Regions from separate parts of the Homo sapiens genome. Here all the other regions are linked to region 7. The links are contacts of gene promoters, found by promoter capture Hi-C in blood cells and fetal thymus (Javierre and others, 2016). All regions are on one chromosome and are shown on one strand. The core of a region is centred on a gene start or on the middle of the fragment in contact, and the rest is flanking DNA. Distances in the headings are between cores, read along the strand shown. Region 1 overlaps IKZF2 (IKAROS family zinc finger 2). Region 2 holds the start of LOC107985981 (a long non-coding RNA gene). Region 3 overlaps IKZF2 (IKAROS family zinc finger 2). Region 4 overlaps LINC01953 (long intergenic non-protein coding RNA 1953). Region 5 overlaps IKZF2 (IKAROS family zinc finger 2). Region 6 overlaps IKZF2 (IKAROS family zinc finger 2). Region 7 holds the start of ATIC (5-aminoimidazole-4-carboxamide ribonucleotide formyltransferase/IMP cyclohydrolase).

What was found. Contacts are between HindIII fragments. The CHiCAGO score rates a contact against its expected background, and 5 or more counts as called.
Region 1: a fragment that was not itself captured here is called in contact with the fragment with the promoter of ATIC in region 7 in 2 of 17 cell types (total B cells and naive B cells); the score reaches 6.7 in total B cells.
Region 2: a contact is called between a fragment that was not itself captured here and the fragment with the promoter of ATIC in region 7, in 1 of 17 cell types (fetal thymus). The highest score is 7.6, in fetal thymus.
Region 3: a fragment that was not itself captured here is called in contact with the fragment with the promoter of ATIC in region 7 in 1 of 17 cell types (fetal thymus); the score reaches 6.0 in fetal thymus.
Region 4: a contact is called between a fragment that was not itself captured here and the fragment with the promoter of ATIC in region 7, in 2 of 17 cell types (fetal thymus and total B cells). The highest score is 10.3, in fetal thymus.
Region 5: a contact is called between a fragment that was not itself captured here and the fragment with the promoter of ATIC in region 7, in 2 of 17 cell types (total B cells and fetal thymus). The highest score is 10.1, in total B cells.
Region 6: a contact is called between a fragment that was not itself captured here and the fragment with the promoter of ATIC in region 7, in 1 of 17 cell types (total B cells). The highest score is 6.0, in total B cells.

What each region holds. Positions count from the first base shown.
Region 1 is chr2:213,016,757-213,019,456 of GRCh38, forward strand. The region is part of intron 7 of IKZF2 (IKAROS family zinc finger 2); the gene reads right to left. Among named protein-coding and RNA genes, the nearest start is that of MIR4776-2, 92 kb to the left of the region's middle. The HindIII fragment of the contact is 190 bases long and covers 1,212-1,401 here.
Region 2 is chr2:213,187,980-213,191,027 of GRCh38, forward strand. It overlaps LOC107985981 (a long non-coding RNA gene), which reads left to right and starts at 460. Exons shown (of 5, transcript XR_007088069.1): 1 at 460-611; 2 at 1,163-1,237. RefSeq lists enhancers at 1-473, 474-1,334, 2,197-3,048. The HindIII fragment of the contact is 301 bases long and covers 1,358-1,658 here.
Region 3 is chr2:213,073,393-213,076,117 of GRCh38, forward strand. All of the region lies in intron 4 of IKZF2 (IKAROS family zinc finger 2), which reads right to left. Among named protein-coding and RNA genes, the nearest start is that of IKZF2, 77 kb to the right of the region's middle. The HindIII fragment of the contact is 3,798 bases long and covers 1-2,725 here.
Region 4 is chr2:213,160,578-213,163,488 of GRCh38, forward strand. The region is part of intron 1 of LINC01953 (long intergenic non-protein coding RNA 1953); the gene reads right to left. Among named protein-coding and RNA genes, the nearest start is that of LINC01953, 5.7 kb to the right of the region's middle. The HindIII fragment of the contact is 871 bases long and covers 997-1,867 here.
Region 5 is chr2:213,142,611-213,145,472 of GRCh38, forward strand. All of the region lies in intron 4 of IKZF2 (IKAROS family zinc finger 2), which reads right to left. Among named protein-coding and RNA genes, the nearest start is that of IKZF2, 7.6 kb to the right of the region's middle. The HindIII fragment of the contact is 4,908 bases long and covers 1-2,862 here.
Region 6 is chr2:213,033,185-213,036,121 of GRCh38, forward strand. All of the region lies in intron 6 of IKZF2 (IKAROS family zinc finger 2), which reads right to left. Among named protein-coding and RNA genes, the nearest start is that of MIR4776-2, 110 kb to the left of the region's middle. The HindIII fragment of the contact is 1,601 bases long and covers 677-2,277 here.
Region 7 is chr2:215,310,657-215,313,642 of GRCh38, forward strand. ATIC (5-aminoimidazole-4-carboxamide ribonucleotide formyltransferase/IMP cyclohydrolase) reads left to right here and starts at 1,403. Exons shown (of 16, transcript NM_004044.7): 1 at 1,403-1,505; 2 at 1,842-1,968. The coding sequence starts at 1,487. It overlaps LOC124907975 (a long non-coding RNA gene), which reads right to left and starts at 1,316. Exons shown (of 2, transcript XR_007088075.1): 1 at 23-1,316. RefSeq lists an enhancer at 1,107-1,757 and silencers at 1,288-1,367, 1,378-1,747. The HindIII fragment of the contact is 8,450 bases long and covers 1-2,986 here.

The DNA of each region.
Region 1 (2,700 bases), core at 57-2,556, 2.3 Mb before region 7:
CGGCAAAACCATAAGTGTATTCCCAATGTATTCTTTTGAAAAACCAAACAGTTCACCCAAATTCAAATTCCAAGTCTGAGGGACCTAGGTTAGATCACATGTCTAGCTCCTGAGCAGGAGAGGGCAGAGTACCTGGACTGAGGGTCCCACCACAGCTACATGCAACAGGAAAGTTCTCTAAAGGTAAATGGGCACTCTTGTTATCAAGAGAAGGAGGAAGGGATGTCAGGCAGGCAAAAACAACAGATGTCTTCTATATTGTTGCAAATTTTCTCCGTGTTACCCGATCTAAAAAAAAAACTTTACAGTTATCTTAGTTATTTTCTTGACAGCATTTGGCAGTGCTGACACTTGCTTTGGCTTCTGTGAAATCACTCTTTCCATGTTCCTACTCTGCTCTTACTCATCTTCATGAAATTTTTTTCCTGCTAGTGTGTTCTTGGCCTTCTTGATGTCTCACTCTGTACTTATCCGTATTGCCTTATTAAAAACTACTACGTTGGGCCACTACATAAATTATGATGGATCCTGCATCTTTGTTTCCTACTCAGACCCCTCTCAAGAGCTTGAGATCTATATATTTAACATCTTCCTAGACAGTTTTATTTGCCTATTTCATGGAGACATAAAAGAATATAGTAAAAGAAGTAAAATCTCCATTTACCTTTCTTTCTTCTATTTTCCTAATTACCATATCACTGAATGACACTACTAATTACCATATCACTGAATGACACTACTATTTACTCCATCAGCCATGCTGGTCACCTGTGGAAAATCCTAGATTTCTTCCTTTCATCCAGTCTTCTGCCTCTCCTCCTCCCTACCACATCTCTTTACAAACACACATGGAGGTACCCCAAGTGTTTTAGATGCTACATTGGTAGTTGTTCACATATGTTGTTCTTTCTGCAGGAAACACCCTTCTCCATTTATTAGTTCACATTTTTGCTTTTTAAAACTAAGCTCAATCCCGGGAAATTCCTCTTGGATGTTCTGCTGATTTAGGTATGTCCTCTCTGTCTCCATAATGCTTATCACATAGTACTATAATTGTTGTTTTACTGGTCTATCTTCCAATAGCTGGTAAATAACCTCAGGGGTTGCATTCTGTTGTATTTGTGTCTCTAATACCTTTTATGATACAAGAGAGATATAATATTCAATGGATGTTCACTGAATGATGTCACCCAATAGAAATAAGTCAAAAAAGCTTATTCCAAAGTTTGGGGGTGCCCAATAATGCCTCTATACTGTGAAAAAGAACCTCCCTTTCCTAAACAATTCAAAGCATAAACCTAACAATATATATAGATTTTAAGCTGGCTATCCTTCTGCTTTGCACTTTCATTTTTGTCTTTAGGTTTAGGTAAAACAGGTAATAACATAGTTTGATTTTAAAGCTTTTCCTTCAAGCTAAGCAGACTTGAAAAAGCAACATAAAGATAATATTGAACAAGATAATCTGCCATAAAACCTAATTAAATAAGATAAATAATCTGCCCTAAAACCCAATAAAATAAATAAGCTCATCAAACCCAATTAAATAATTTAATTATATAAATAATCTGTCATAAAACTCAATTATTATTTCCAAAACTATGAGTCATGATATTCCTCCTTTTTCCTCAAACTCAATCAACTTTTCTAAGACCATTTTATTCTACCTCCTAAATATGTCTTCAATATTTCACCTTGTTCTCTTCTGCAGTTGCCTCTTCATCTTTTTCTTTTTGGCATTGTCATTTCCAGTCTCTCCTCACACCATACCCCCTGCCCCAGGTAGGCATTTATCATGTATCCTCATTGGAGACATTTTTCTTGATTTGATTACCTCATTAATAACAAATTTGGTTACCCTAGTGGCCCCCCATCAGTTACACAATGAAATTCAAACACTAGCTTAGCAGAGAAGACTCTGTCTTTGCATCACAACCTACTAATTCAGAAGCTTCATTTCCTACCACTCCTTAAACTGCAGTTACACTCAACATCAGGGAAGCTGTTAATTATCTTTTATATCTCCAAGCCTCTTTTTCTCCTTGAATATACATTCTCTGTATCCTGCCTGATATATGCAATTTTTACTCATCCCTCATGTTTGGATTGAACACTCCTGCATGTAAGAAGCCTCTCTTGACTTTTCCAGAGTTAGGTTAATTCTACATCTATGTTCCCAGAGAACTGTGTATGCATCCTTATTAGAGCTTTTGTTTCATTTTATTTTATTTTTTTAAAGTATGTATTTCCTACCAGACTATAAAGTAAGTGTATTAAAAGACTGGGTCCATTTATTTTTATACCCCAGAATGTTCTATATAACTTGGCACATAGTAAGCTCTTGATAAATGTTTTCTGAGTAAAGTGAAAATGCCTCTTTTCCTTTAAAAAATTCCATACTAGAAGAACAACACAGGGAAAAACATGTTTTAGAAAAGAAAGACTAGGAAATATAACTATGTCAGATATTTTTTAAAAACAAGTAATAGTTAAATCATTTCATGGAGCTAATGGCAACCAAAATGACAGCAACTCTCATATCTACCACAAAAAAGGAAAACAAATAAATAACATACAGCAAGAGAAGGGAATAGATATAAGTTTCATCATGGTTCTGTTTAAAAAGAGACATATGCCAAGCTATTTATATGAGACGTATGTTAATGATGAACTCTAGCAGCATTTTACAGAACCATGTTT
Region 2 (3,048 bases), core at 258-2,757, 2.1 Mb before region 7:
GAATCAAAAGGAAGTTAACAATTCCAGAAAGATGGCAGCATGAGGGCACATATTCCACCCCCGAACAAAAATGTACTTCTTTGATTGGAAGTAAATCAATGACAGGTACAGTGCAGTGGGATGCAGGGTGCACAGGGGAGTAATACTGATGTCGGGAATGATACCAAACACAGACCACAAATCTTAAAGAAGTTCTTCCAAATATGGCAGCATTTAGAACCCATATACCATTTTTTTTTTCCAGGGTAGCACAGACTTATAGGAAAGTGAGGAAATTCTGGGAAATCCTAATATTAGAGAGACAAAGGTTGGCGCTGCAGGCAGGCTCTGAGGAATGACGGGGCCTTGAGCCTCTTTCCCACCAGAGTTCAACAACATTCCTAGGCCATGCTGGCATCTCTGGAATGTAAAGTGAGCACTCTGCCCCTCCTCACTTTGCTTCTCTGATCTGACATTTTCGTAGTTACCAAGTTCCCTCAGATGAAGGAAGGGAGAACCCTAATCTGAAGAGGGGAGGTCTGAAGTGGACAGGAACAGTATCAAGGAGACCACAGGAGGCAAAACATTAAAAGTTGAAGAAACAGCATAAATAACAGAAGACTGAAACTAAGGTGAGCGGGGAAAGCTTGCACTCTGCAAGCAGTTAGCCCAGGTTCCAGTCCTAGTGCACTGTTTACTTACTTGGTATGTGCTACCGAGCAAGTTTCTTGACCTGTTTGTGCCTCAGTTTTCTCATCTATAAAATGGGGATAATAACATGCATGTAAGAATTAAAAGATAATATGTTATTTATATAACAAGGGATTATGGCAATACCTGGCACATACCAAGAGTTCTGTAAATGCTGATTGCTTTTATTAAATTAAGTCATTTAATACATTTACTTTGTTATTAAATTAAATATCGCTATTACTAAATCTACATAAAAGTGAGATTAAACAACTTATTTAATAGACAAAAACTCCAATGACATCAAAAGTCGTCCATATGATATGTAAAAGAGAGCTGAAATAATGCAACTCAAAAGGTAATAGCAAAGGACATTATGCTAGAAACGCTAATCACTATTGCCTAGTCACATTCTCTCCTTGTAATAGTATCCAAAGACAGGAATAAAGGCCACATTCTTTTTCCTCTGACTCTACCCCACCTCTGGCTACAGCTGATTGGATCAAGGACAGACACCTGACCAAGGACAGTCACGCTGTGCTTTATGTCCCGGCAGAAAAAGGCTCTGGTGAGGATCAAATTTTTTTTTAATTTGGGTAATTAAATAAATGAGCTGAACGGAAGTGTGAATCAGTAACTCTTTGTAGCCTTAAATGAAGTACAGCGGGAAAAGGAACACAGGAACTCAAGCTTGCCCTGGGCTGCCTGGTGGGAAACAGACCCGGATCTGCAAAGGTGTTAGGTATCTGTGCAGAGGAAGCCGTCTCTGCCCCTGATTTCGGCCCTCAGAGCCCTCAATGACAGCAGTAGAGTCTTCTACTAAGCTATGTTTCTAAGGATAAGGTTGGGATCCTGACAGTGAATAAGGTTATCCTGCAGGATGGGGAGCTGAGAATTCTTGGCACTCGAGCCTCTCTGAGGCAGTTACCAATGCAAGCTCCCTCCCACACGTGAGGAGACATCCCTTTTTAAGTCCATCCTGTGACCAAAGCTTGGAATGCAGCGCTGGCTTTTGGAAATAAGCAAAGGCAGATTAAGGAAGAAAGATCCTTTACTGTGAGTTCTGACTGATATTTCCCTTCAGGGCCTTGAGGCTTAAGCCTTTCTTTCTAGAAGAATGGGGAGGGGAGGAGCTAGTCCCATTTGTTGCTAAGCGACTAAAGCTTTCTCGGGTCACGTTTGCAGCTATTGAGAATCAGTGACAAGGTGGATGTAGCGATGCGGGGAGAAGCCTCTCATTTCAAGATTTCTGGTTCTGTATTTTAAACCATGGAGTTCGCAAGAACAAAATTGATTGGAAGCCTATCAAAGTTCGAGAATGGTGTTTTTAGAAATAAGCCAAGCCTTAGAAGGAGGGATGAGTTTCAGGCTTAAACCAACACAGCAGGGCATCTTATCTTCCTCTGCAAAGTCCAGGCCCGATACAAAGGATGCTAAGAATAAATTTAACAAAAAATATACACAACCTGTATGAAGGAAAAAACACAAACCAACCAACGAAATGAAGGGCCTAAACTAATAGAATGAATGGAGAGTCATGACATGTCTTTTTGGAAAGACAGATACTGTAAAGATGTAAATTTTCTGCAAACTATTTGTAAGTATAACACAGAGATCCATTTTGTATTTGACATGACAACATAACTCTCATTTATTTGGAAGACTAAATGTAGGAATATCCAGAAACATTCTGAGAAAAAAAGAGAAACAAGTAGGAATTTGCCTGTGGTGTAGTAAACCTTTTTTTTTTTTTTTTTTTTTTTTTTGAGGCAGAGTCTCGCTCTGTCGCCCAGGCTAGAGTGCAGTGGCGCGATCTTGGCTCACTGCAAGCTCCGCCTCCCGGGTTCACGCCATTCTCCTGCCTCAGCCTCCCGAGTAGCTGGGACTACAGGCGCCCACCACCACGCCCGGCTAATTTTTTGTATTTTTAGTAGAGACGGGGTTTCACCGCGTTAGCCAAGATGTTCTCCATCTCCTGACCTCGTGATCCGCCCGCCTCGGCCTCCCAAAGTGCTGGGATTACAGGCGTGAGCCACCGCGCCTGGCCTTAAGCCATATTTTTAAGGTGTGACAATTGAAACTGTGATAGTGTTTGAGTAACAGCATCGGAGTAAACAGGCAGATCAATGGAAGAGATTAAAAAGTAAAGAAGCAAACATAGCTGTAAGTCCCTGGGAATTTAGAGGTGATATTTCAAATCAATGTACTGAATGGGTTTTCCAAAAAAATGTTTTGGAACAAATGGCTAGTGTTTGCAAAAATATAAGAGAACCCTGCCTCCCACTTAATTATATTTTGAAATTTAAGGCTGGGCACGGTGGCTCACACCTGTAAACCAGAAAAGCCAGCACTTTGGGAGGCCAAGGTAGGAGGATCACT
Region 3 (2,725 bases), core at 176-2,675, 2.2 Mb before region 7:
CCACAGAAGAAGTATACAAAAATTAAACAGAAAACACTGCCAGGAAAATATTAAACAAATGATAGTAATCCATTATTGACATGATCTATGTTTCATAAATATAAAAAGGTTTTAGAGTATGACAGTTATTCAAATGTTTAATAGCATGTTACACCTTTGAAAGAGGTAACACTACAAGAAAAACAACAGAAAAATCAATGTACACTTCACCTTTCCAAAATGTAAAGCATATATTAAACAAATTAAATGAAAATCAGGGAAGTGAAAGCCATGTTAACTTCCAACGAATCAGAAGTCCATAAAAACTTATGAATAACATAATTTTTGTTTTCTTTGAGATGGAGTCTTGCTCTGTCGCCAGGTCTGGAGTGCAGTGGCACGATCTTGGCTCACTGCAACCTCCACATCTCTAAATAACCTAAATTTTAAAAATTCAGAATGATGTGAAGAATTATCTCTAAAGTAACATCCAGAAGTAGAAAAAGATAAATTTCCATTTCACAATCCCTGGGATCCAGAAACTTGTACCTATTTGACCCAGCTCCTATAATCATATTTCCCTGGTCCCTTGAATGTATTTTACTATCCTCTCAAACTGAGAAAGTGACAATATTCATTATTTTGTTGCAAATATCCAGAGCACTGATTTAAATATCATACAAATGAAAAAGATTGAAAAGAAAAAACTTTGAAGAGACACATCCATCTCTAACTAAAAACATGAACAGAGTAGCAGTATTTTGCCCTTTACTTTTTAACCCCATATAAAACTAAGTCAAGGAAAATATATTATTCTGACATGTTTATAACTATTACATAAAATCAACTATCACCTAACTACAGGAATGTGCTCTGAGAAATGTGTCCTTAGCTGTGAACACTATCAAGTGTACATCACAAATCTAGATAGGATAGCCTACTTCATACCTAGGCCGTATGGTATATATTGCCTGTTGTTCCTAAGCTACAAACCTGCACAGCATGTTACTGTACTGAATACGTAGGCAATTGTAACCCAATGGTATCTACATATACACAGAAAATGTATCTTAAAAATACCCTATTTATAATATTATGGCATCACCGCTGTATATGTTGTATATGTGGTCTATCATTGAAAAGTTATCAGGCATGCACATGACTGTACATATTTATGTCAAATATTAAAATCCAGATGGAACATTAGTTAGAATAACAAAAGCCTAACAAAACTCTTAAATCCAATCAATGGATTTTGCTTACATACATATTTTTTAGAAGACTGACATTGCATTACCACATAGAAGCTGTGATTCAAATTTCACTAAGAATCTAGATTCTGTTCTGTACTTTGGTCTTTGCCAAGTTTTGCTACAGTAATAGAATGCCAAATTTTCTGCAATTATTTCATTTAGGAAAAAACCTTCTCTTAAACATTCTATAAAAATTTGATTCATCAAACCTTATTAATATGATGATGAATTTATTACAATTGTATTTAAATGGTTATTAAACGTAAGCCTAAATTATTCAGGCTAGACAGACAAGCATGGATCCTGAAAAGGCGGTTTGTTTTCTTAAAACTAACTTCCAGTTATTTCAGATTTCAACTATGTGTGTACTTTTCTAGAAGACAATTCTAAAGTGGCTTTCAAACTGTTCCTTGGCTATACACTATACAGATACTGAGACAGTCTCAATAAAAGAGAAATGCTGAAGTCTATACTACCTTATTTCATTCAGTTAAAGTTTTGTTCTGTTCTGCTGGCTTAATATGGCCTTATCGTTATTTCAACACATGTCCCATTCCCATTTATTAACATTAAATATGAAATAGTAAATCTCACTGGGAAAAGTTTTCTAAAAGCTAATCGCTGCTTTAGAGAAACAATCTATTGGCACATGCTGTATGTGTTTATGTTCATTAGCAAACTGGCCATTGCAATACTTCAAATTAGGGTATCAGCTGAAATATTAGGTTGATGCCAAAGTAACTGTGGTTTTTGCCATAATATTTAAAATGAACCAAGAAATAAATACAAATTCCAAGTACTTTCAAGTTATACTCAGTAGAAAAAATATATATCTTATCCTATATTTGAGTTCCCCCAATGTGGATGTTGTCATAATGTCATTAGTAGAAGTTTATTTTTTAAAGTGACAGTTTGCTCCAAATGTCACCTAAATAAATATTATTTATCAACTCTCATTTGAGAATCTGAATACAAGTATTAATTTTCTGAGGTCACACAGAAGTTTTCTTTTAACAAAACTAGAATCCTCAAAGGAAACATTTGATTAATTTTTCATTAATTGATATATACTGACACAATAACCATTAAGTAGTTTATGTTAAACACACCCAGTGTATTTTAACCATCCTCGTTTGGGTGAGAAATGAAGATAAAATATTTTCATGTGACCTCTATCTTGATATTATACAAGCACTGACATTCAAACTAAAGAATATGGAAAGAAGATTTTTGATTTTTCTCTGCCTGGGAATAATATTATCAAAGAACTCATAAAATAATCATAAGCAAATACTAAGAATACACCACCACCACACTCTACCAAATTTAGGTTAATGGCACATAGCAAAGAGCAGAGCAGATAAGGCATCACAGAAATTCATATACAAATTTAAAACACACAGACACACTAATGACTATGTTTTTAAATCACTGATTGTAAAAAAACAAATAATGTTTTCCCAACGCTTTCCTACACATCATGTAAACTAAAC
Region 4 (2,911 bases), core at 182-2,681, 2.2 Mb before region 7:
TAGGAAGGTATAGAAGATTGTGAACAGAAATTTCTGATGGAGAACAAGGTGCCAGAATCCGGAATGGAGGTTGAGAAGTCATGGCCTCTAGGGGGTGGAATATCAGAAACATGAAAGGATAATCGGGAGATGTAGCTCTTGGGGAAGAGAGGGAAATACTGAACTAGGTGCAAAAGTCTATGAAGAATGAATCCCTGGAAAACTGATAAATAAAAGCGAGGAGGAAGAATTGTGAGGTGGTAGCTGGAAAGCATGAACATCAGAGGAACCGGGATTTTACATGAAAGTGTATATGTTCTGAAAATGTCTTTGGACTACATAGGGGATGCTGACTCCTTAGTCTAAACTTGAGCAAGGTGAATCAGTAGAAAATGAAAAGCCTTCACTTGAGAGGACTATGGGTAAGTTGACCATATGAGCTGGTTTGCCAAGAACTGTCTCAGTTTACACCTGTGGTCCTGGCATCATTATTAATAGTACCCCCTTTTATTCTTAAGTGTCTTGGTTTCTATGTGACATTACATATTCATCCTAGATGAGAAGGAGTAATGACCTCAAAGAAGACCTTTTTCATTTAGGCAATGTTGTTTTTATGTTTGTTGTTTTTGTTTTTGAGACAGAGTCTCACTTTGCCACCCAGGGTGGAGTGCAGTGGCGCAATCTTGGCTCACTGCAACCTCCGCCTTCAGGGTTCAAGCGATTCTCCTGTCTTAGCCTCCTGAGTAACTGGGATTACAGGCATGTAATCCCAGTTAATTTTTGTAATTTTTGTGGTGACAGGGTTTCACCATGTTGGCCAGGCTGGTCTTGAACTCCTGACCTCAAGTGATCCACCTTCCTCGGCCTCCCAAAGTGCTGGGATTACAGACATGAGCCACCGCACCCAGCCTAGGCAATGGTTTTTTTTTAAAGAGGTAGGAGGCTATAGATGGATTTACCTGTTTGTTTTTGGTTTTTTTTTTCTTAAAAGAGGAGTTCCAGGGGCCATAATGAAAAAGCTTTGAGAGCATATTGAGCAGTGAGATATTGATTCAGGAGAAAGGAGGTTCTAAGCAGTGTTGTAATTGAAAGTGCAGAAGAAAGGGGTTAACCTCAGCTTTAGCTCCCATCTTCCATTTCAATCTTTGTGTCAACTTTCTCATTCTTTCCATCTGGAGTCAAGTGGACAATCAAGCCTTCATAGGTGAAATATGCCTACTATTATTTATATCTTTGCATTGTTGCAAGTGATTGCAGCAGTTATTGTACTGCAAACTGACAGATACAGGTAAGAAAACTTTATAAACGTTTACCAGAGTCCAAGTTCCTCCAGATCACTGCCGTACAATGACTCCTAATTGAGATGATAACCTCCTACTATTTGCTTTCTTTTGCACTTATGTTTTGAGTGTTCTTTATTCTGAGCTTTGGCAGATTCAGCTCTGTCTCTGCCAACTCCATTACTTGCTTCAAAATCAGGGTAAAAAAACAAGGCAGCTTAAGGCCTCTGGATCATATGAAGACTGGTTTATTCATCGAAGTCACTAGATTTTGCCAAGCATTGTACACTGAGAGCTGATGACGAAAGGATTAGAGTACTCAAGTCAGATGCCAATGCCAAAAAGGAAGCAGAAATTAACCACCCTTGCTAAAAGCAAAATATTCTTATGTCTCTAGTCACAACCATAGGCTAAAATGCACCTTCAAAGAGCAGTATAACATGTAACCAAATTGTAATTGAAGATTCCTTTTTTAAAACGAAATGATCCCAACTCACTAAACACAGAAATCTTCATTACAACATCATCACAGGAGACCTTTAAGTCAATGAGGTCATTTGTATTTTAGTCTGCAAATAATATATTACTGTAATGCAATGAAGGCATAAAGCTTATTGATGTACTTTATGGAAATGTAGGTAAAGCCATTTCTCTGAGTTAGGGATATTCTTCAATGACCGTGGCAAATAAATTAAAACGGGGGATTTTTATTCACTTTCTAAAAAATATTCTTTCCAGTTTCCAAATAGACTGTCCATAGGAATTCTTAAAGTAGTAAGCTAGCAGCATGAATTCAAAATGTGAATCATTTGTTTAAAAATCTGCACACATTTTTTTAGAATTACCTCATAATAAGCCTCACTGCTTAAAACCATGGTTCAAACTTGTTTTCTGTACCTAAATGATCCACATGCTAAAGATATTCCTATTTAATTCCATCTTTCATTGACAGAAAAAATTCTAAGCTGGAGTCACCCCCCACTAGCTTCCCACTATGTTCTGCAGGAATATCAGAGTATTGGAAATGTTATAGCAGTTTGAAAACTATCCCCCTAGAACAGTATTTTTCAAATGCCTGGTTGTAACCCATTAGCAGGCTGTGTGTATTTAGTCAGTCATAACCAGCATCTAAAAACAAAATAGAATCGAATACAGTACGTTTATCACACACAACAAAGATAAATAAAAGGTAACTTTTTGTATCAGAGGTATATCTATCTATCTATCAATTGGCTCACCATGTAAAAGCTATTTTTACTCCCTATGGATTACAGGGTCAAAAGAAGACTGAAAGCTACTGGCCAAGAGAATGGATAAACAAATTGAAGTGTATCATTTCATTGAAATATTGCACAGCAACTAAATACTACAACAAATACATATATATACACACATACATATATATGTACTACATAAATCAATACATATATAAATACATAAATACCACCACAAAAATCCCTAAAATATTATACAGGGTAAGATAAGTGAATTGTTAAAGGATTCTCATATAAATTGTTAATACTTAAAAACATAGAAAACAATATGTATTGTTTTTGTACATATGTATATGTAGTAAAAGTATTATAAAAGAAAGACACCACTTTTGGAATAGCAGTAACCTCCAGGGTGAAAGAGAGGAGGATGAGATGCAT
Region 5 (2,862 bases), core at 302-2,801, 2.2 Mb before region 7:
CGGATAAGGAAACTGGAGCTCAGAGATGTGAAGTGACATGGCCAAGGTCACACAGCAAAGCAGGAATTCTAACCCAGGCCAGCATAATTGCAAAGCCCATATTTTTAACCACTCACAGTCTACTGCTTCTGAGCCTCAGTTTTAAGTGTTATAAAATAGAGTAATTACATGCCTACCTCACAGAATTGATGTGGAGACAAAGTGAAATAATAAGTAAAGCATCTAGCATACTAAGTGCACTCAATAAAGGATGCCCCTCTACCTTCTCTCGCTCTAGTGGTGATTATAACATTTATAATAAAGGAAACCATCCCTAAATATTCCTTACCTATATCAAAACAGAGGTATATTGGGTCTCAATTAATTCGCAAAAGGAAAATACCAACAGGCCAACAAATACATTTAACATAAACAGATAAGAAGGGAAAAAAGTAAAGAAAAACAACATATTCTACCTCATTTTAGGACTGGAACTCTGCTATTGATATTTCCAAATATGATAAAAATATGTAAATATTCAAAATATATCAACATGTCAAAAGTTAGGAGAGAAGAGCACGGAACCCAGAGATGAAAATTCATTATGGCTTACAGGAAGACTCTCAATAGAACACAATCAATGGTGTTACCTTTTTTTAAAAAAGTACTTCTAGTGGGAAAGACAGATTTTGAACAAAGATAGAGATGATAAGGATAATCTTTCTGCCATACGTTGTTTTGTTTTTTGAAAACGGACTTTAATTCTCAGTACTAAGCAGACTAAAAAGATAGGGAGTTGGGAGCGGAATGAGGTGCAAAGAAAAAGTTACAGCACTTTTGCTGTTGATTACCAACAAATCTATACCTCTTTTACTTTCCTTTTTTTTCCCTTTTTTTCTCTTTTGGTACATAGTTATGACATTTATCTCTGATACCTGTAAAGAAATTAAATCAGAACTATTTTTATTTAATTCCCTAATAAACAAGAACTAAATGTAAAGTACATTGGGTATATACACAAACCTAAGTATGGCGACTTAAAACAGAAGATTTTCTATCAAGCCCATCTGGTGTTATATTAGGGTGTGTCCTACAGAAATCCAAGCAAGGGTGACTGCCAAACTAAGCTACAGAAGAAAACTCAGAAAGCTGGTAAGTCCCATAATATAGGCTCTATTTCAAAAAGTGCATTAGAACACCCGCCTGAAAAGATAATCTGATATCACTCCACCCTCATAATAACTCTTCTATTTCTGAGATATTTGTCACAAAAATATGGGCCAGTATTGGACACGGCAGACACCCTGAGAAGGTGACATTGTAGAGATAGCAGTTATCTAACTAACCCACAAGGTAATATCACAATTTTATGTCCCAATCCTGATAACTTCATCTTTCTGCTAAGTTCTCTAAGAGGTAAATTGATTTCTTCAAGCCTCAATTTCCACATATGAAAAATAGAAATCATAATATACTTCTGCTTCGCTAGGTTCTAAAAATGGAAACTAGCTAAGAAAAAAATTAATGTGAAGTACTCTGAAAAGAATAAACTAGATTCCCTGACCTGATTATTGGTCAGAGCCTTGTAAAACTAGACTTACTACTTCTTCCGATTCCATACATGCCACCTGGCCATCAGACTGATAAATAGCATTGACTGTACAGTTGATCCACTTAACAGCTTTAAAGTAATAGAAACAAATTTTGCATCATGATGTATTTTCATACCCATTTAAGTAACTACCTGCAAAGTAAATTTATACATAAACATTATAAAAAAATAGATAAGAAAAATAAAATTAATTTAAAAATTTTGAACTTTAAACAATTTTCAAAATAGTCACCTGCCAGTATAGAACAGTCTGAAACCAATACTGAACAACTATGCAAGAATTGGAAATGAGCTAACCAAGAAACAGAAGGAATCACAAAGTAAGTTTCATCTGATGGGCCGAAATACAATATGGATTATTTTTATATTGTTCTGTCTGAGATGTCTGTCTCAGATTCTTAAGTCCCAGATTCTATTTTTAAAAATCACTTAACACTGTGTATTTCCAATAGCCATCAAGGCATATACTGTCATCCCTGACACCGAAGATTGTCAGCAGACTCAATATGTACACTAATGATCTCAGGCAACAATGTCCATCTTCTTAACAAAGACATCCTCATTCCAGAAGAAAAAGTTTAAAGTTCTCTAAGAAAATTCATTCAAAACCATAGGAAGTAGTCATTATAAAATGTTAGGATCACTAATACCTCTTACTTCTTCTTAAGTTTATCTTAGATGCTAAATTTTAAAACCAAAAACTGTCAGGCATTATAACATTTTTAGTTCTCTCCCTCCCAAGTCACCAGTGCTCTATTCTAGCACTGTCAAATAATGATAGCTGCCGTCATTATTTTTATACAATAGCTGGCAGCAAGTTGCACAGAAACCCTTCATCTTAGAAGAGTTACCAAATAGCTTAAACAAATGCTGGGACCTTACAGTAGTACTGACCACCTTCCTAAAGCCAAAATAAGTGAGCTCTCATGCCTTATTGATACTTTTCTGGCCAGAATGTTAGCTGTTTTACTAAAAAAAAAAAAAAAATTTACTTATTTTATTTTTTTAACTGTTTAAAAATAACTTTTTTCCTCCTTACACATATATTCCCATCCTCTCCTTCCTGCTACTAGAAACTGTCTTAAAGGTTTTCACATTTACTTTTAGCTTTAACACTTTCAATCAAAATTGCAATTCTGTTTTTGGAAGCAGGCACCCTCCAGGAAGTATATTTGAAGATATTAAAAAATGCAGAAAATAAATAAGTTCTTTTCATTAAACAAAGTCAACAATGCATGTAAAGGGATTTAGGAAAACCGGTGATCTCAGAC
Region 6 (2,937 bases), core at 227-2,726, 2.3 Mb before region 7:
GTCACATCTTCAGGCTCCACTTCTAACTCTAGTTATGTTGCTGTTTCTATCACATCTGCAGTTCCTTTATCCACTGAAGTCCTGAACCTCCTGAAAGTCATCCATGAGGTTGAAATCAACTTTTTCCCAACTCCTGTTAATATCTTGACCTTCTCAGATGAATCACAAATGTTCTCAATGACATCTAGAATTCTGAATCCTTTCCAGAAGGTTTTCAGTTTACTTTGCCCACATCCATCATAGAAATCACTGTCTATGGCACCTCTAGCCTTATAAAATGTATGTCTTAAGTAATAAGACTTGAAAGTTTAAATTAACCCTTGAGCGTGGGCTGAAGAATATATGCTGTATTAACAGCCATGAAAACAACATTAATCTGCTTGTACATCTCCATCAGAAGTTTTGGGTGACAAGGTACATTGTCAATGAACTGTAATATTTTGAAAGGAATTTTTGTTTCTGAGCAGTGTCTAAACAATAGGCTTATTCACTAAACCATATTGTAAACAAATGTGCTGTCACCCAGACTTTGCTGTTCCATTTATAGAGCACAGGCAGAGTAGATATAGCATAATTCTTAAGGACCTTAGAATTTTTGGAATGGTCAATGAGCATTGGCTACAACTTTAAGTCACCAGCTGCATTGTCCTACCAAGAGAGTCAGCCTGTCCTTTGAAGCTTTTAACCCAGGCACTGACTTCTCCTCTCTAGATGGCCTCTTCTTCTAATAGAAGGCTGTTTTGTCTACACTGAAACTCTGCCATTTATCACAACCACCTTCATTAATTAGCTTAGCTAGTTCTTCTGGATGAATTACTGTAGCCTCTACATCAGCACTTGCTGCCTCACCTTGCACTTTTATGTTATAGAGATGGCTTCTTTCCTTAAACCTCATGAACCAACCTCTGCTAGCTTCCAACTTTTCTTCTGCAGTTTCCTCACATCTCGTGGCCTTCAGAAAATTGAATATTGTTAGGGTCTTCCTCAGGATTAGGCTTTGATTTAAGAGAATGTTGTGGCTGGTTTGATCTTCTATCCAGACCACTGAAACTTTCTCCATAATCAGAAGTAAGGCAGTTTTGCTTTCTTATCACTTGTGTGTTCACTGGAGTAGCATTTTAAATTTTCTTCAATAACATTTCCTTTGCATTCACAATGTGGCTGTTTGGCACAGGAGGCCTATCTTTTGGCATGTTTTGCCTGTTGACATACCTTCCTCACTAAGCCTCATCATTTCTAGCTTTTGATTTAAAGTGAGAAATGTGAGTCTTCCTTTAACTTGAACACTTAGAGGCCATTGTACAGTTATTAAGTGGCCTAATTTCAGTATTTTTGCATTTCAGGAATATAGAGGCCAGGTGAGGGACAGAGGGACAGAGAAACTGGCCAGTTGGTGAAGCAGTCAGAGCTTACACAACATTTATCAACACAAAAATTCAAGTTTGCCAGCCTGTATAGGTGTGGTTCGTGGTATCCTAAAACAGTTATAATAATAACAAGAAAGATCACAGATCACAAAACAGACATAATAATGAGCAAATGTGAAATATTGCAAGAATTATTTAAATGTGACAGAGAGACATGAGGTGAGCATGTGTCATTGGAAAAATGGTATCAACCGACTTGCTTGGAATTAGGGTTACCACAAACTTTCAATTTGTAAAAAACGCAGTTATCTGTGAAGTGCAATAAAGTAAGGCACAATAAAGGAAGTTATGCTTGTATTTCCTTTCATCTGACTTTCTATATTACAAGAACTCAGGCTTATGAGTAAGCAAATAATTTGGATAGCAAACAGCTCCCAAAATAATCAATTCAGAAGCAAATAGCTTGCTCTAACTTATGGAATATTCATATAAAGAATATGTATTTGTATATCCAGAATGTGGTTTCTTACTTGGATCTCAAATTCTAACCCTAATGCCAGTTGTGTGTGAAGCCTAGGTTACGTTAAATTAGGAAATAGTTGTACCTAACTCACAGCATTTCTGTGAGTATATATTTTTTTTAATCCATATGGAAAACTCAAGGTACTTAACACACAATAAATGATCAATAAGTGGAAAATCTTTTTTTTTCCCTGTAGCAGTCAACATCTTCTAACATATTATATGATTTTTTAACTGATTCTTGCCCGTCTCCCCTTATTAAAATGTAAGCTCCACAAAGACAGTCTTGCAGTCCACAATCTCACAGAGCTTACATTCGAGTGAGGTGGGATGGCACAGACAACATGTGTATAAACTAAACACCAACATAACCACAGATTCTGATTCAAGCTTTTTATTAAGATAGAGATAGCAAAATAGAACTAAGGGGATGCTTCTGGTAGGTTGCTTATGGATGCCACTATTTTCAAAGAGATGACATTTAAACTAACATCTGAAAGATAATAAGGCAACTATGCCAAGATCTTGGGAAAACGCTGAAGGTGTTGACTTCTAGGATCATCCATTAGTTCAAAAACAGTAGGAAAGAATAAAGAAACCTCGGGTTGCAAAGAACCCAGAGTGAGGCGTAAAGTAGTAGAAGATCAGACAGTAGAAGTGGGCAGAACCACCAATGGCCATGATTAGTAGTTTGATTTTATTATAAAAGCAATGGAAAACCATTAAAATATTTTAAGAAGAGGAGTGACATGGTTTAAATCAGATTTTAAAGTAACATTCTGGTTGCTATCTGGAGAATAGATTGGGAAGCAGGAGTATAGTGGCTGAGAGCAGAGACCCTAGATTCAGACAGACCAGAGCTTATATCTCAGCTTTCATGAGTATATTGGAAGTTGGATAAAATGTAAACATATAGTTATCAAGGTATGATTTTTTTTGCTATATCAGATCATAATTTTTAAAGTACTCTCACAAATATAATTTATACTATTGTTAGATTTATTTTGTTCTAAGCTGCTATATGTCTTCAAGCCTCATGATAGATTTT
Region 7 (2,986 bases), core at 153-2,652:
ATTAAGAAAGGTCTTCTCTTACCTTCTTTTGACTGTCATCATTCCTCTCATCCAGGAATATTTACAGGTTTGCAAGAAGACACCATCTTTAAGTAGTTTTTAGGCACTTTTACAATACTGACTAAATTGTATAAAATAGTATTATAAATTAATATTTAAATTATAATTTTATGACGTGAAAATCAACAACGAATGTCAATTTCACTTCGTTTTGACTGTCATCTGTGGCCTCTGGAGTCCCTCACTTAAATCATTGGTCCTTGGTTTTATTTTTTAAGCCTATTAAAAAGGAGGATGGGGCCGGGCACGGTGGCTCACACCTGTAATCCCAGCACTTTGGGAGGCTGAGGTGGACAGATCATTTGAGGTCAGGAGTTGAAGACCGGCCTGGCCAACACCGTGAAACCCCATCTCTACTAAATATACAAAAAAAAAAAAAAAAAAGTACAACAACAACAAAAAATTAGACGGGTGTGGAGGCAGAGGCAGGAGAATTTCTTGAACCTGGGAGGCAGAGGTTGCAGTGAGCTGAGATGGTGCCACTGCTCTCCAGTCTGGGAGACAGAGCGAGACCCTGTCTCAAAACAAACAAGCAAACAAGCAAGCAAGCAAACAAACAAAAAACAAGTTGGGCATGGTGGCTCACCCCTGTAATCCCAGCACTTTGGGAAGCCGAGGCAGGCGGATCACCTGAGGTCAGGAGTTTGAGACCAGCTTGGCCAACATGGCGAAACCCCATGTCTACTAAAAATACAAAAATTAGCCGGGCATCGTGGCGCCTGCCTATAATTCCAGCTACTCGGGAGGCTGAGGCAGGATAAACTCTTGAACCCGGGATGTGGAGGTTGCAGGTTGCACGTGACATAGCCGAGATCGCGCCATTGCACTCCAGCCTGGGCAACAAAAGCGAAACTCCATCTCAAAAAAAAAAAAAAAAAACAAAAAAAACAAAAAAACCCAGAAAAACAAAAAAACAACAAACAAAAAGGGAGGATGGTAGATAACTGTCCAGATACTTTCCAGCTTTGCCGCTATATGAACTATTCCTTTTGTTTAGTTTTCAGCATGGGAGCTTCTGGCACTTTTACGTACTTTCCAGCTTCTGGGGACCGGCTGCCTAGAATAACAGGCATTTGCCCCAGAGGCCGTGGAGTGGCCTCACTTTGGGGTCGTGGGCAGATCGCTGGCTCCCACGCCTGGACTTCGGGATCGCAGGCAGGATCCCTTCCAGCCCAAGCACTCCGCCCAGGCGCGCCAGGCAGAGCCCCACCCCATCCCGCCGTTCCCTTCAGCCCCGGGGCGCGGATCTTGCATCTGAAACTGAGCAGAGCAGGGCGCCGGGCAGGGCCGGCGGGCCACGTGATAAGCCCGGAAACAGCTCCGCCCCCTCGCTTCCTGAGCCGCCACATCCCGGCAGCCCTCCTACCTGCGCACGTGGTGCCGCCGCTGCTGCCTCCCGCTCGCCCTGAACCCAGTGCCTGCAGCCATGGCTCCCGGCCAGCTCGGTGAGGCCCTAGCGGAGCGGCGCGGTCTGCGTCCTCGCCTGCGGCCCCCCACGCTCCCGCCTTGGCGGCGGCCGGCGGGACCCGGCACTGCAGGGGCGGCGCTGCGGGATTGAAAGCCAGCGTCCCCGCTCCCCGGCCGGGCCGCAGCCTGCGTGGGGCCCGCCTTAGAGCAGCTCGCGGGTGTAAGACCTGGGGAGGCCCGGACCAGGCCTGCGAACGCAGGGTCCAGGTGCTGGCCTTGCGATTCGAGAATCTCCTCCCCCAGACCCTCCCAAGGCCTTGCAGAACACAGTGCAATGTGCTGCGAATCATGAGAAAAAATGTCTTCTCTTTCAGCCTTATTTAGTGTCTCTGACAAAACCGGCCTTGTGGAATTTGCAAGAAACCTGACCGCTCTTGGTTTGAATCTGGTCGCTTCCGGAGGGACTGCAAAAGCTCTCAGGGATGCTGGTCTGGCAGTCAGGTAAGGCATAGCTAGTTCCATCAGAAAGGAGTGTGATCACATTAACCAGGAAGTATTGTATTCCAGGCACCAGCAGCAAAACGCCTTATTTACTCCTCCCAGTAGCGCTGTGAGGTTGGTGTAATACTTCCCCACTTTATGGGGAAAAAAAGTGAGGCTCAGAGAGATTTAGCAACTTTTAAGACCCTGGACGGCTGGGCTAGGTGGCTCACGCATGTAATCCCAGCACTTTGGGAGGCCGAGGTGGGCTGATCACTTACGGTCAAGAGTTCGAGACCAGCCTGGCCAACATGGTGAAACCCGTCTCTACTAAAAATACAAAAATTAGCCGGTATGGTGGCACACGCCTGTAATCCCAGCTACTGGGAAGGCTGAGGCAGGAGAATCGCTTGAACCTAGGAGGCGGAGGTTGTGGTGAGCCGAGATGGCACTACTGCACTCCATCCTGGGTGACAGAGAAAGACCCTGGACAACACACTGGACAGATTTAGCATCTTCTGCACAAGTTTAAACAGTTGAGTAAGGGAAAAGTAGGATTGGAACCCGTGCTGTTCCTGATTTTAGGACACTAGTCTTAGCCCCTTCCTTAAACAGATTAACTTAGGTGGGCCACTTGTTATGCAAGGAAAACTTCAGTTACTTTGACTGGTGATTTAATAAAACTCGACATCATGAAGATTCCAATTTACCTGCCTTCCCTTAGAATCTCTGGTAACCATATGAAGGTGCAAATCATTCATTCCCACGTTCACAAGCCCTTCATTAGCTGACTAGGCCATGGAAAGAAGGGACTTAGAAATGATTAACCAGGATGCCATTGCTGATGTCAAGGAGTGGCATTCTGGGAGGAGAGGGAGGAAGTCTACTGAAAGGTAGAAAAATGAAAAAAACTATAGGATAGCTATTTAATAAACGGCAGTGAGAGTTGGGAGGAACGAGATGACCACCCCTGAAACATATTTTAGAATGAAAGAGATGAAGGATATCTGTCTGCTTTTTGTTGCCATGTGGAAAATTT